Linked DNA regions of Homo sapiens: region 1 is linked to region 2. Evidence: promoter capture Hi-C in human tissues and cell types (Jung and others, 2019). All regions are on one chromosome and are shown on one strand. The core of a region is centred on a gene start or on the middle of the fragment in contact, and the rest is flanking DNA. Distances in the headings are between cores, read along the strand shown. Region 1 overlaps CACNA2D4 (calcium voltage-gated channel auxiliary subunit alpha2delta 4). Region 2 holds the start of LRTM2 (leucine rich repeat transmembrane protein 2).

Region 1 (6,867 bases), core at 659-3,158, 47 kb before region 2:
TGAAAACAAACTGAAACCCACATCTGTCACTCACCAACTCTACCCATCAGGATGGCAGATGACCCGCAGACGGAGCCAGTGCCTTCCATGAGGAGCTGCATCCTCACCAGGTTAGGTCTCAGGGAAACTGAAGGAGGAGAGCCAGCAGCAGCGGGTGGCTTTGAATCTGGCTTCGGCCCATGCCTAGAAAGCACGACGGTAGGTTACAGCAAAGAGTGGCAGAGCCTGGTATTCTGTGCGGACTTCAGTGTGCAAAACGGCTACTGCTGCACTTCTGTCTGCAAATCTCACACACACTTCTCTTTGGCTGACCCTGACTCGAAACCACACTGGGCATTGAGTCTGGAAGTGTAGTTCCAGCTTAGCTAATTTGACACAGTACAAAATCATTATAAGAACCAAACAGGAATTTTTTTCTTGCTTTAGACCTGCTTTTCGATTGTATATATTTAAGGTGCACAACGTGATGCGCAGTCATCCCTCAGCATCCATGGGGATTGGACCAGGACACCCCAAAGATACCAAAATCCATGGATGCCCCAGTCCCTTCTATTAAATGGTGTAGATTTATGTGTAATCTACACAGTCTTCCCTAATACGTTAAATCATCTCCAGATTACTTATAAAACCTAATACAGTGTAATTGCTATATAAATAGCTACACTGTATTGTTTAAGGGATAATGACAGAAAAAGTCTGTACATATTCAGTACAGATGCAACTATCCTTTTTTCTGGAATACTTTTTGATCCACAGTTGATCGAATCCAGGGATGTGGAACCTGTGGATATGGGAGGACCAACTGTACTTATCTTGATATACAAAGTGAAGTGAAGGGATGACTACAGTCAAGCAAATTAGCATACCCATCATCTCATATAGTTACCTTTGCTTTAGCCTGTGTGTGGTAAGGACACCTAAACTCTGTGCTCTTGGCCAGTTTCCAGTGTACAATACAATACAATACAATGAACTCTAGTCCTCATGTTGTACATTAGAGCTCTAGCCTTAGTCATCCTAGATAATCACAACATGGTACCTTTTGACCAACGTTTTCTCATTCCCCACCTCCCACCGTGCCTTCCCCTGCTGCTAGTAACCACCATTTTTCTCTGTTTCTATGTATTCCATTTTTATTTTAGATTCCACATATAAGTGAGATCACGCAGCATTTTTTTCTGTGTCTGGCTAATTTCACGTAGCATAATGTCCTCTAGGTTCATCCATGTTGTAGCAAATGGCAGAATCTCCTTCTTTGTTAAGGCTGAATAATATTCCTCTGTATTTATAAGCACTACAATTTCTTTATGCATCCATCAACAGATACTTCAGTTGTTTCAATATCTTGGCTATCAATGGTGCAATGAACATGGAAGTGCAGGTATCTTTATGAGGTGGTGATGTCCTTTCCCTTGGGTATATACATGGAAGTGGGACTCCTGGGTCACATGGCAGTTCTACTTTTCATTTCTTTAGGCTCCTCCATATTGTTTTCCACAGTGGTTGCACCAACCTACATTCCCACCAACAGTGTACAAAGGTTCCCCTTTCTTCACACCCTTGTCTACACTTATTTCTTGTCTTTTTGGTAGAAGCTATCCTAAGAGGTATGAGGTGGCATCTCATTGTGGTTTGGGTTTGCATTTCTCTGATGATCAATGATGTTGAGCAGCTTTTCAAATATCTGTTGGCCATTTTATGTCTTCTTTTGAGAAAGGTCTATTCAGGTCCATATTTAAATCAGATTATTTGGATGTGTGGGGTGGTGGTGTTGTTTTTTGGTTTTTTTGCTGTTGAGTTGTGTGGGTTCCTTATATATTTCGGATATTATAAAATATTTGCAAACCATATATTTTATAAGATTTTTATGTCCCTTATAAAATGTGCAAATATTTTCTCCCAATCCATAGGTTGCCATTTCATTTTATTGATTGTTTGCTATGCAGAAGGTATTAGTCACTTTTTATTTTAGCTGTTGTTTCTTATGCTTCCAAATGAAAATTTTAAAACCAAAAAGTACCGTATCTGAAACGAAAGCTTTACTGGATAGGCTTCCCAGCAGGTTGTAGAATAAAGGGACAGTGAACTTAAAGATGGATCAGTAGAAATTATCCAATTTAAAAACCAGGGGGAAAATGGGGAAAAAGACAGAGAAAGAAACAGAACTTCAGCAACCTGTGAGATGGTATCAAGTGGTCTAATTACATGTTCTTGGAGCCCTAGAAGGTAAGGAGAAAAACTCAAGCAGAAAAAAAGCATATTTGAAAAACTAATTGTCAAAAATGTCCTGAATTTGACATAAAACAGCAATCTACAGATCCAAGAATCTCAGCAAACCCCAAGCAGGATAAAAAGACAAAGAGAACCACATCTGGGTACTTCATAGTCCAGCTACTAAAATCCAAAGGTAAGAGAAAATCTTCAAAAAAGCTAAAGGAAAAAAGATGCATTACATAAAGGGAAACAATAAGACTGCTGTATATAAGAACCAACAAAATAACATCGTTAAAGTGCCAAGAGAAGAAAAAACTGTCTACTCAAATTTCTGTAGAAAGAGAAAATACACTTCAAAAATAAGGATAATGTCTTCGGTAAGGACATTTTCAGGCCGGGGCAGTAGCTCACACCTGTAATCCCAGCGTTTTGGGAGGCCAAGGAAGGAGGATCACTTGAGCCCAGGAGTTCGTGACCAGCCTGGACAACATAGGGAGACCCCATCTCTACAAAAAAATACAAAAAAAAAAAAAAAATTAGCCAGGTGTGGTGGCATGCACTTGTAGTCCCACCTACTCAGGAGATTGAGGCGGGAGAATCACTTGAGCCCAGGAGGTTGAGGCTGCAATGAGCTGTGATCATGCCACTGCACTCCAGCTTGGGCAACAGAGTGAGACTATGTCTCCAAAACAAACAACAAAAAAAGACATTTTCAGATAGAAGGAAACAGAGGTTTCATTATTATCAAGACCAGCAGCAAAAATGCTTCAGAAAATTCTTTAGGCTGAAATAAAGTGACATCAACTGCAGGTCTACAGGACAGAATCAACCATACTGGAAATGATAAATAATGTGGGTTAATAAAAGACTATATTTTATTTATTCTCTTAATTTCTCAAAAAGACAACTGACTATTTAAAGCAAAAGTTTCGATGTTGCATTGTGGGGTTTGTAATATATGTAAGTGTAAATTATATGGCAACAATAGCACATAGCAGAGTTATCTCAAAAATTTAAAGTTAATTTAACATTGAAAAAATTAATCAGTCAGTGCAATTTATTACATTAACAGAATAAAAAAGAAAAGATAGAGGGTAATCTCAATAGATGCTAAAAGAGCATTTGACAAAATTTAAGAACAGAAAGAAACTTCTTCCCTCTGATGAAAGGCACCTATGAAAAACCTGGAGCTAACTTTTGATGGTAAAATATTGAACACTCTCACCCTAAAATTGAGAACAAGGCAAGGAGGACTTCTCACCACTTCTATTCAGCCTTGCACTGTAGGTCCCAGCCCCTGCAGTAAGGCAAGAAAACAAAATAAAAGGCACAAAGACAAGGAAGGAAGAAGTAAAACTGCCTTCATTCAGGGACAAAATTATTGTTTCCATAGAACATCCCAAGAATCTACAAAACAAACACTAGAACTAATAGGTAAGTTTAGCAAGTTCAGAGAACACGATTTTATAAAAATTAATGTTATTTGCATATATAGCAGCAAACAGAAAATGGAATATTTTTGGTCCAGGAACGCCACCGTCCTTCAGGCCAGCGCCCCGCAACCGCCTCCCCGCGCCCCGGTTCCCCACACACCGGCTCCCCTCGCGCCTGCCGCCCGGGCTGCATCTGGTGGAGCCCCCGGCTGCCCCTGGTGCTGCTGCTGCTGCTGGGCCTCGTGCGTGGTGCAGCCGCAGCGGATGCGGTGAAAAAGGGCAACGGGACAGCCTGCGTAATGGCCAGCTTCGCTGCCTTCTCGATGAACTACGACTCTAAGAGTGGCTCTAAGAATGTGACCTTTGACCTGCCATCCAATGCGGAAGTGCTTGACAGTGGCTCTTGCAGTAAAGAGAACACTTCCGACCCCAGGCACGCGATTGTGCTTTGGAGGAAGACAGACACTGACCTTCCATTTCACAAGAAGTGCGACACGTGACAGCGTCCAGCTCATGAGTTTTGTTTACAACTTGTCAGACACACACATTTTCCTCAGTGCAAGCTCCAAGGAAATCAGGACTGTGGAATCTCTACCAGATATCAAGGCCCCCAGGTCCGCACGAACAGCGAGACCATCAGGCTCCGCGGTGCCCCGATCCAGGCCTAGATTTCCAACAGCAGCTTCAGCAAGGGAGAGACGCGCCACGAGCAAGACGCGCCTTCCCCGCCACGGCGCCGAGAGCCCCTTCTCCCCTCCGTGGCCAGGTACAGCGTGAGCGGCACCCACGGGGCCTGCCTGCCGGCCAGCGCGGGACTGCAGCTGAACCTCACCCAGAGAGGAGGGACCACGCGACGGTGACCTGGGCATGACCTCAGCCAGCGGGAGCGCGGCGCCCACCTGGAGACCCGGGAGCGGCGCGGCGAGGGCACCACGGTCCTGGGCTTCCGGTTGGGGATGAATGCAGGTTCTAGCCGGATTTTCCTACGAGGAATCCAGCTGAATACGACTCTTCCTGACCCCAGAGACCCCACTTTTAAAGCTGCCAACGACTCCCTGCGAGCATTGCGGGCAGCCATCGGCAATTCTACAGCCGGAGCGGAGCGTGTCCGCGGCACGAAGGCGTTTTCAATCAACATATTCCCAGTGTGGGGCCAGGCTTTCAAGGTGGAAGGCAACCAGTTCGGATCTGCGGAGGAGCGTCTGCTGGGCGAGAACAACACGCCGATCCCCATCGCCGTCGGCGGCGCCCTGGTGGGACTGGGCCTCCTCGTTCTCATCGCCCACCTTGTCGGCAGGAAGAGGAGTCACCCGCACGGCAGCAGGCACAGAGCTGCTGGGGTCTCTGTTCATCCCCCTGGGCTTAGGGTCCTGAGACAGAGGCACACTTTCTGGCAAACATTTCTCAAATGTGCTTCATCAAATGGGATGTTCATCTTGCAGCATTTGCCATACACGGCAGAGTAACTATGGAAATGACGGTGTTAATTTTGCTAACTGGGTTAAATATTTTGCCAACTGGTTAAACATTCGTATTTACCAAAATAGAACTCTAAGGGACGGTGGTAGTGCTTCTCAACATTGGCACTGGCTCCATTGTCATTCGACTTTAAAATGTCCGGGGTTGGTTTCCTCATTCTTTGCTGCACTCAGATTTAAGCCTTACAAAGGGAGAGTCTCCGGCCTTCACGCTTAGGAGCCTGAAGGTCGGCTCACCGTTAGGCTGACATGCTCATGAAATTACAAACAGTAGAGAGGGAAAATCCTAAGACAGAAGAACTCCAAAGATAAACGGGCCTGGCCGCCTTTTAAAGATGAGCGGAAGCACTCCAGACATTTGTCTTTGGACGGGATGGGCCCGGCCACTCACGGCTGGCGGCCACGTTCCAGCGAAGGCACCTGGTGGCATGTCCTCCCGCATTTCCGAAACTCTGCTGCTCAAGGGCTGGCACTTTTTAAAATATGAAAATGGGTGTTATTATTTTTTTTTTTTTGTAAAGTGATTTTCAGTCTTCTGTTGACATTCAGGGTGATCCTGTTTCTGCGCTGTGTACAATATTAGATAGATATTATCTACTGATGTGTCTGCTGTGGCTTGGGATGGTTGTACACAGGACCAGCTCACATAATGCATTGCCTGTAACAATGCTAACGAAAAGTGTCTTTCTCCAAAAAGAAAGAAAATGAAATATTTTAAAGTTCCAATGACAATAGCATCAAATAACATAAAATACTTAGGAATAAATTTAACAAACGTATATATGACCTCTACACTGAAAACTACAAAACATTGCGGAAAGAATATCAAAGAAAAAAGTAAATATAGAAAGATATAACTCTGTTTATGGGTTAAGATCAGTATTGTTAACACATTCATTCTCCCCAAATTGATTTATAGATTCAACGCAATCCGATCAAAATTTGAACAGACTCCTAGAAACAGACAAGCTGGTTCTAAAATTTATATGAAAATGCAGAGGACCTAGAATAGGCAAAATTATCTTGAAATAGAAGAACAAATTTGGACAATTCACAGTATCTGATTTCAAAACTTACTATAAAGCTACAATAACCAAGCTGGGTGGTATTGACCAAAGAATAGACAAATGGGTCAATGACCTGAATAGAGAACCCAGAAATAGCCCACACATATATTATCAATTGATTTTTCAATCAAGACACCTTGGAGTGTCATTGGAGCAAGGCAATCTTTTCAACAGATGGTCCTAGAACAACTGAATAAATGTATGGGGGAGGGGAAACATTGAGCCATAGCTCATACCACATACAAAAACTAATTGGATGAATCATAACCTTCAATGTAAAAGCTAAAACTGTAAAGCTTTTACAAGAAAAAATAGGGGAAAATCTTCTCAACCTGAGGATATGCAAAGATTTCCTAGGCAAAAACACAGAAAGCACTAAACATGAAATAAAATCTGATAAACTAGACTTCATTGAAAGTAAAAGTTCTGCTCCTCAAAAGGCACCAGTAAGAAAATGAAAAAGCAGGCAGACTTGTATCCAAAATACATAAAGAACTCCTACAAAGCAATAACAAAAAGACTAAAGCCAAATAAAAAATGCTCAGAGCACTGAGCAGACACTTCGTAAAGGAAGCTGTGCAAGGATGCTCAACATTAGTCATCAGAGAAATGCAAATCAAAACTACAAGACTTAGCCGGGCACGGTGGCTCATCCCTCTAATCCCAACACTTCGG
Region 2 (6,718 bases), core at 1,406-3,905:
ATCAAGCATCCAAGACACACAGCCAGATAATGCCCATCGGGCCTCCACCTCTGAATTCCTGACTCCTGGGCCATCACACTAGCCCTAGGGTGTGCCCACTCCCCTGGCATCTCCCCTTGGTCAAGAGTCCATACCCCTCAGCATGGAAGAGTCACAGAACTCAGGGGTAAAGGGGGCATTTGCAGCCTACTCTGCCGCCCCCTTCACTCTGCAGAAGGCCAGAGAGAAGCAGAGCCACGACTGGGCCCACACCCTGGGCCTGCAGGGGCCGTGCCCTTCCACCAACCCCAGGAAGGCTGAGAGGGAGCCCGGAGAGTGGCCAGCCAGAGCCCCGGGCCAAAGACGGCCCGAGATTCCATGTGGCCAGGACGCAGGGGAGGCTGCCACAGCCGTCTAGGCTGGGCTCCGCCTACCGCTGCCTGTCTGGGCACCCAGGCCCTCTAGGACAGCTGCCCATCACCCCCATCACACACACTGCCCAGGCAGCAAGGAACCAGGTTTTAAAAATCTCTATATTTGTACTTGGAACAGCCATATACCCTCCTGGTTCATTTTAAAACACATGCCCCATCCTCACCCCCAGCCTCCTGCACCCCCGTTTCCTTGTCAAATATTCTCAATCTCAAACAGACCCTCTGGGAAGCAGAACAGAGAAGCCTCCTGAGTGGCCCCTCATGGGAGCTGGTCCCTGACATGAAGGAGGCTAAGGTGTCCACTGGGCCCTGGGGCCGGGCTCAGGGTGGTGTCCCTGGGGCTGGGCTCAGGGTGGTATTCCCAGGCAGGGCACAGGAGGCTTGGCTGGGGGAAAAAGGAGGAAGACCAGAGGGGCAGACAGCCTCTATGCTGGCTCCTTTCTCCTCTGCCCACCCCCAGAACTCCCAGACACCCCCAACCATCACATACATGCCATCCCCTCCTCCTTCCTACACTGCCCACTGAGGCCATAGCAGCCCAGAGGCGGCCCCTGGGCTCTGGTGCCTGGGAAACGGGAGCAGAGTTTGCTCCTCGTGGGCCCAGACAAGCTTCTGTCAAACCCCAAAGACACCAGATCGGCTGCTTAAGCAGCCTCTCTCCTTACCCCTCCCCGCGGGCCTGGCTTTCCTGGTCTCCCTCTTTTGGCAGTGCTGAGACTTTCTTTCTGCCGGTGGGGAGGTGGGGGTGGGAAAAGCTGGGCTCTTCTTGGCAGCTCGGAAGCTGCTGTCGGGTTTCCCTACCAGCTGGACTTCCCCCGCCTCAGCTCCACGTGCTCGGCTCCCTCCCCGCCCCCACCTGAGGCAGTTATCTAAGCTGCAGGGGTGTCATCTGAGTCACAAAGAGACACTGCCCAAGTAGCCCTGACAGCCGGGTGCCAACACCCCCCAGAAATGTGGACAGCTTGGGGGTGGGGGAGAGACAGGGCCGCCAACTGGAACCCAGCCCCAGACCTGCAGGGAGGTGCAGGAATGTGAACTTCCGACTCCTGGTCAGGCTGCTCCTCTCTCCAGCACTGTCCAAATGGGTCTGGGGGATTGAGAGCAACTGTCCCGCTCTACTCAGGGTGTCCATGCCCCCTGTGTGGGTCAAGAAGCCAGGCAGGCCTGGCCCCGCTGTGTACCCCCCACCCAAGCTCAGTGTCCAGCCCCCACTAAGGCTCCCTGACCCATTTGCAGATGGACGGCTGGGTGCACAGCTGCGGGACACCCCAGCAGGTTCTCGCGGGCCTGGTTCTCCTGTCTTGCCCTTGGGCTAGCAGGGAAGGGCTGCGATACTTCTCTCTCCTGCCCACTCCCAGCCTCACCCTCACCAGGGAGGCTTCATGCACAGCTGAGTGGGCCCATGCTCATCTGGGGGAGGGTTCCTCCACACCCTTGTCCAAGGACAGCCACCTGCAGGCAAGCTATAGGGAGGCCCAGGACCTGGGTCTGTGCCCATGCCTCTGACATCCAGGACCTCCTCCCTGCCACCCTCCACCCCAAGCCTTCCTCTGACCTGGCCCTGTCCCCAGCACCTGACTGCCATCCCAACCGCTTCCCATGACCCCCGAGTTTCTTGGGGCTGTCTGTGCAGAGCCGGGCACAACGACAGCACAAGGCTCTTGGCTGCTTCTCCCATGCTGCAGGGACCGGTTTCTATGCCACCCGGGACTGTCATCTGGCGCCAGCGCTGCCCTCCTCCCCACTTCCCAGCAGAATCCACAGCTCTTGTCCCCAGCACTGTGGGCTCAGAGTTCCCAGTGTCGTGCACCTTTGGGATGCTCAGGTGCCTGAGCCCGAGCAGCTTCTTCGGCCCCAGCAATTGCCTGCAGGTAGGAAGCAACTGCAGCTATTCCTGCAGGGCAGAGATGGCCGGTGCCCACTTCCCATGCCCCGACCACCCCCTGTCCCCACCAACCCTCCATTCCTTCCTACCAGCCACTCGGTACTCACCCGTCTTTACTCTGACTGCAAACGCCTTCAATCAGGTGGCTCTCAACCCTCCAGTAAGACCCTCCTGGGATTCCTATAGAAATCCAGACACCACCGGCAGGCAGAGCGCAGTGGGCACTGGTGCCAGAGTCTCCACTCAGCGGGAGCAGCGGCTGGCACGCAGCACACAGCACCAGGAGGTGGACTGCTTGTGGCAGACGGGGGACGGGGCTGCTGGGTCAGTCACAAACTGAGAAGGAAAGAGAGGGATGGAGGGAGAGAGAGAGAGGAGAGAGGGAAGAAAGGGGCGAGGGAGGAGAGCGCACGCGTGTGCGCGAGCAGCGAGCCAGAGTGGAGCGGGGAGTGACAGCTGGGGTGCATCTGTGATGACAGCGGCAGCAGCACACACAGGCGCACACCAGAGGCACCACGGCCGGCCGCGAGGGCAGCGCTCACCCTGGCCACGCTCACATTTCAGTGGAAAAAGGCGCCTGTGGATGAATCGCTGCCGACCACAGGGAGGAGGAAAGCGGTTTCACCACCACCTCCATCTTCCATCCTGCGCCTCCAGGCTCTCCCTCACCCCCCCGGCTGCACCTGTCTTCTGTGCCTCTCTCCTCTCTTCCCCTCCATCTGGGGAAAGAGGGACAGGCGCAGACACAGAGCAAGCGGCTGACTTCTGTTCCGATGGAGGCCCCCCTGGGAAGCTGGTCTTTCTCCTGTTTTAGAGACATGCGAGGCAGAGTCTCCCATCCTGCCTGAGAGAAGGAAAAACCGAACCCTTCTCTCGGTCATACGAAAGAAGGGTACACAGGCATGTCCATGTGCCAGATGACCCTACAGGAAAGGGCCCTGAGCCCCCACAAAGCCAGGGATCACATGGTCATGCAGAGGTCACTGAGCCTCAGGGTCTGACCACCCGACGCCAGGACTACTTAGGGAAGCAGAATGCCAGAGTTGGCAGGCTGGGAGTTTGGGCACAGGGCAGCCTGCAGCAGCAGCCTGCAGACCGTTCTCAGTGCCAGGGACGAGCTTGGCTTCTCAGGGCTCCTTGCTCTTATCTGTGATGGGTCAGGCATGCGAAGGGAAGAGACTGTCATTCAAGAACTTGGAGGCCTCTTTCTTAACCAATCAGGACAAAGCAAGTCAGAAAAATTGATATCCTAAGAGATGGGAAGTGGCTGATCTGAAGGCCAAGTGAGTCAGGGACCAAGCTAGAGGGGAGCCAGGGCCCCACCAGCCTGGAGCACGAACCCTAAATCCCCCTTCCTTTGCGTCCACTGCCTGTAGACAGATGAAGCACCGTGCTAGCGATATATCACCGTGTCCTATGTCCCTCTTCCATTTTGCCTGCTTTGCTGGAGGGGTTCACAGCCAGGACTGGGGTGGGTGTAGAAGAACCCCCTGGACTCAGGATGCCCCTAGAAGGATGCTCCTGCTCACTCCCTTCTGTCCGTTCTGCCGGGTCCCCGGGCAGCACAAGGCTTGAGCTGCAGTGTCTTTTACCTCTGGGGAGTCCCGCCTCTGACCTCTCATGCTGGTGCCTCCCACACATCCCACTGTCAAGCAAAAGAGGCTCCCACCTCCCCATAAACATACTTCCTGCTTCTCCATCTCCATGAAAGCGTGTTCTTCCCTGGGCCTGAAATGCTCTCCTGCCCATGGGTGGCTTCCCCCTTCCTTAAACGCCCCCTGCAAGGTGACGTTTCCCCGGAACACCACAGGACTGGCCCTGCTCCTCCTCCGATCTCTGGCATTCTCTTTGGGCCACCCTCATGTTGTGCAGGAGCTTTCTGTGGTCTGCTTCATCTCCTTTCCTTTTTTTTTTTTTTTTAATTTTTTTAGTATTTATTGATCATTCTTGGGTGTTTCTCGGAGAGGGGGATTTGGCAGGGTCATAGGACAATAGTGGAGGGAAGGTCAGCAGATAAACATGTGAACAAAGGTCTCTGGTTTTCCTAGGCAGAGGGCCCTGCCGCCTTCCGCAGTGTTTGTGTCCCTGGGTACTTGAGATTAGGGAGTGGTGATGACTCTTTTTTTTTTTTTTTAATTTATTTATTTATTTTTTATTGATCATTCTTGGGTGTTTCTCGCAGAGGGGGATTTGGCAGGGTCATAGGACAATAGTGGAGGGAAGGTCAGCAGATAAACAAGTGAACAAAGGTCTCTGGTTTTCCTAGGCAGAGGACCCTGCGGCCTTCCGCAGTGTTTGTGTCCCTGGGTACTTGAGATTAGGGAGTGGTGATGACTTTTAACGAGCATGCTGCCTTCAAGCATCTGTTTAACAAAGCACATCTTGCACCGCCCTTAATCCATTTAACCCTGAGTGGACACAGCACATGTTTCAGTGAGCACAGGGTTGGGAGTAAGGTCACAGATCAACAGGATCCCAAGACAGAGGAATTTTTCTTAGTGCAGAACAAAATGAAAAGTCTCCCATGTCTACTTCTTTCTACACAGACACGGCAACCATCCGATTTCTCAATCTTTTCCCCACCTTTCCCGCCTTTCTATTCCACAAAGCCACCATTGTCATCCTGGCCCGTTCTCAATGAGCTGTTGGGCACACCTCCCAGACTGGGTGGTGGCCGGGCAGAGGGGCTCCTCACTTCCCAGTAGGGGCGGCCGGGCGGAGACGCTCCTCACTTCTCAGACGGGGCGGCTGCCGGGCGGAGGGGCTCCTCACTTCCCAGACGGGGTCGCGGCCGGGAAGAGACGCTCCTCACATCCCAGACGGGGCGGTGGGGCAGAGGCGCTCCCCACATCTCAGACGATGGGCGGCCGGGCAGAGACGCTCCTCACTTCCTAGATGGGATGGCGGCCGGGCAGAGGCGCTCCTCACTTCCCAGACTGGGCAGCCAGACAGAGAGGCTCCTCACATCCCAGACGATGGGCGGCCAGGCGGAGACGCTCCTCACTTCCCAGACGGGGTGGTGGCCGGGCAGAGGCTGCAATCTCGGCACTTTGGGAGGCCAAGGCAGGCGGCTGGGAGGTGGAGGTTGTAGCGAGCCGAGATCACGCCACTGCACTCCAGCCTGGGCACCATTGAGCACTGAGTGAACCAGACTCCGTCTGCAATCCCGGCACCTCGGGAGGCCGAGGCTGGCGGATCACTCGCGGTTAGGAGCTGGAGACCAGCCCGGCCAACACAGCGAAACCCCGTCTCCACCAAAAAAATATGAAAACCAGTCAGGCGTGGCGGCGCACGCCTGCAATCGCAGGCACTTGGCAGGCTGAGGCAGGAGAATCAGGCAGGGAGGTTGCAGTGAGCCGAGATGGCAGCAGTACAGTCCAGCTTCGGCTCGGCATCAGAGGGAGACCGGGGAAAGAGAGGGAGAGGGAGACCGTGGGGAGAGGGGAGAGGGGAGAGGGAGTCATCTCCTTTCCTACACAGAGCTGTTCAAGCAGGGGGACTGGCCTCACCTGTTCCGTGTCCTTCAGGCCCCAGTGCCTTCGTGTCAACTGAGTGAGGAATGGAGGACATGAAAGAGCTCAAGACTGGGCATCAGGGGACCCAGACTCCAGACTCTGTTGCTCAGTGACTAGCTAGCTAGTGAGTTCACTCAGCAGCCCTGGGCCTTGTGCTGGCTGGGATTCCTGCCCTGCAGAATGAGGAGATGGGTTGAGATCTCTGGTCTCCCTTCTGGCACTGGCCTTCTGTGACCTAAGTATTCGCTGTGCACCTGTCGGGTCCTCAGCTTGTGTTACAAAAGATGATCCCTCTCATGCCCCACAGTCCCTATCCCGTGCAACACGCAGTCTCCTGGTTAGGTTCTCAAGACAGAGGAGGAGGAAAGAGAAGCAGATAAAGGGCTAGGAGGGCAAAGCTGGAGCTTCTGACTCCTGGGACCACAGCACTCAACAGTGTGCAAACTCATATGTTCATGTGCATGCTATGTATGTGCATGTGTGTGTACGTATGTGTGCATGTGCATGGTGCACGTGTATATGCATGTGTGTGCAAGTGTGTGCGTATGCCTGTGTGTCCATGTGTGCGTGCATGGGTATGTGTGTGCAAGTGTGTGTGCATGCATGTGTGTCCGTGTGTGCATATATGTGTGTGTCCATGTGTGTGCATGTATGTGTGTGTGCATGCACAGTTGTTTGGTTTTGCCTTCTGTGATGACACAGCAGCACCGAGGTGACAGTCTGTGTGCACAGCAAAGACGTACATCTTGATAAGCCGCCTGCGGGTCTGGCCTTATTGAGGCTCTTTGTTAGGTTGTCTGCCAGCGGAGCTGAGCTGCGATCTTACAGGAAAGCTGCTTGGGAGGAAGGCACGAGATCAATGTGGAGAGGCAGGGCAGAGAGGGAAGGCAAGGGACAGCCCAGAG

What was found. Contacts are between HindIII fragments. The study calls those that stand out against the background at their distance.
Region 1: a contact is called between a fragment that was not itself captured here and the fragment with the promoter of LRTM2 in region 2, in 1 of the 25 tissues and cell types used here (pancreas).

What each region holds. Positions count from the first base shown.
Region 1 is chr12:1,862,671-1,869,537 of GRCh38, reverse strand. All of the region lies in intron 18 of CACNA2D4 (calcium voltage-gated channel auxiliary subunit alpha2delta 4), which reads left to right. It also overlaps the pseudogene LAMP1P1. Among named protein-coding and RNA genes, the nearest start is that of LRTM2, 46 kb to the right of the region's middle. The HindIII fragment of the contact is 4,711 bases long and covers 1-4,263 here.
Region 2 is chr12:1,816,502-1,823,219 of GRCh38, reverse strand. It overlaps LRTM2 (leucine rich repeat transmembrane protein 2), which reads right to left and starts at 2,655. Exons shown (of 5, transcript NM_001039029.3): 1 at 2,406-2,655. The region is part of intron 26 of CACNA2D4 (calcium voltage-gated channel auxiliary subunit alpha2delta 4); the gene reads left to right. LOC105369601 (a long non-coding RNA gene) reads right to left here. Exons shown (of 5, transcript XR_931546.3): 5 at 4,414-5,986. RefSeq lists an enhancer at 2,339-3,085. The HindIII fragment of the contact is 8,239 bases long and covers 1-6,718 here.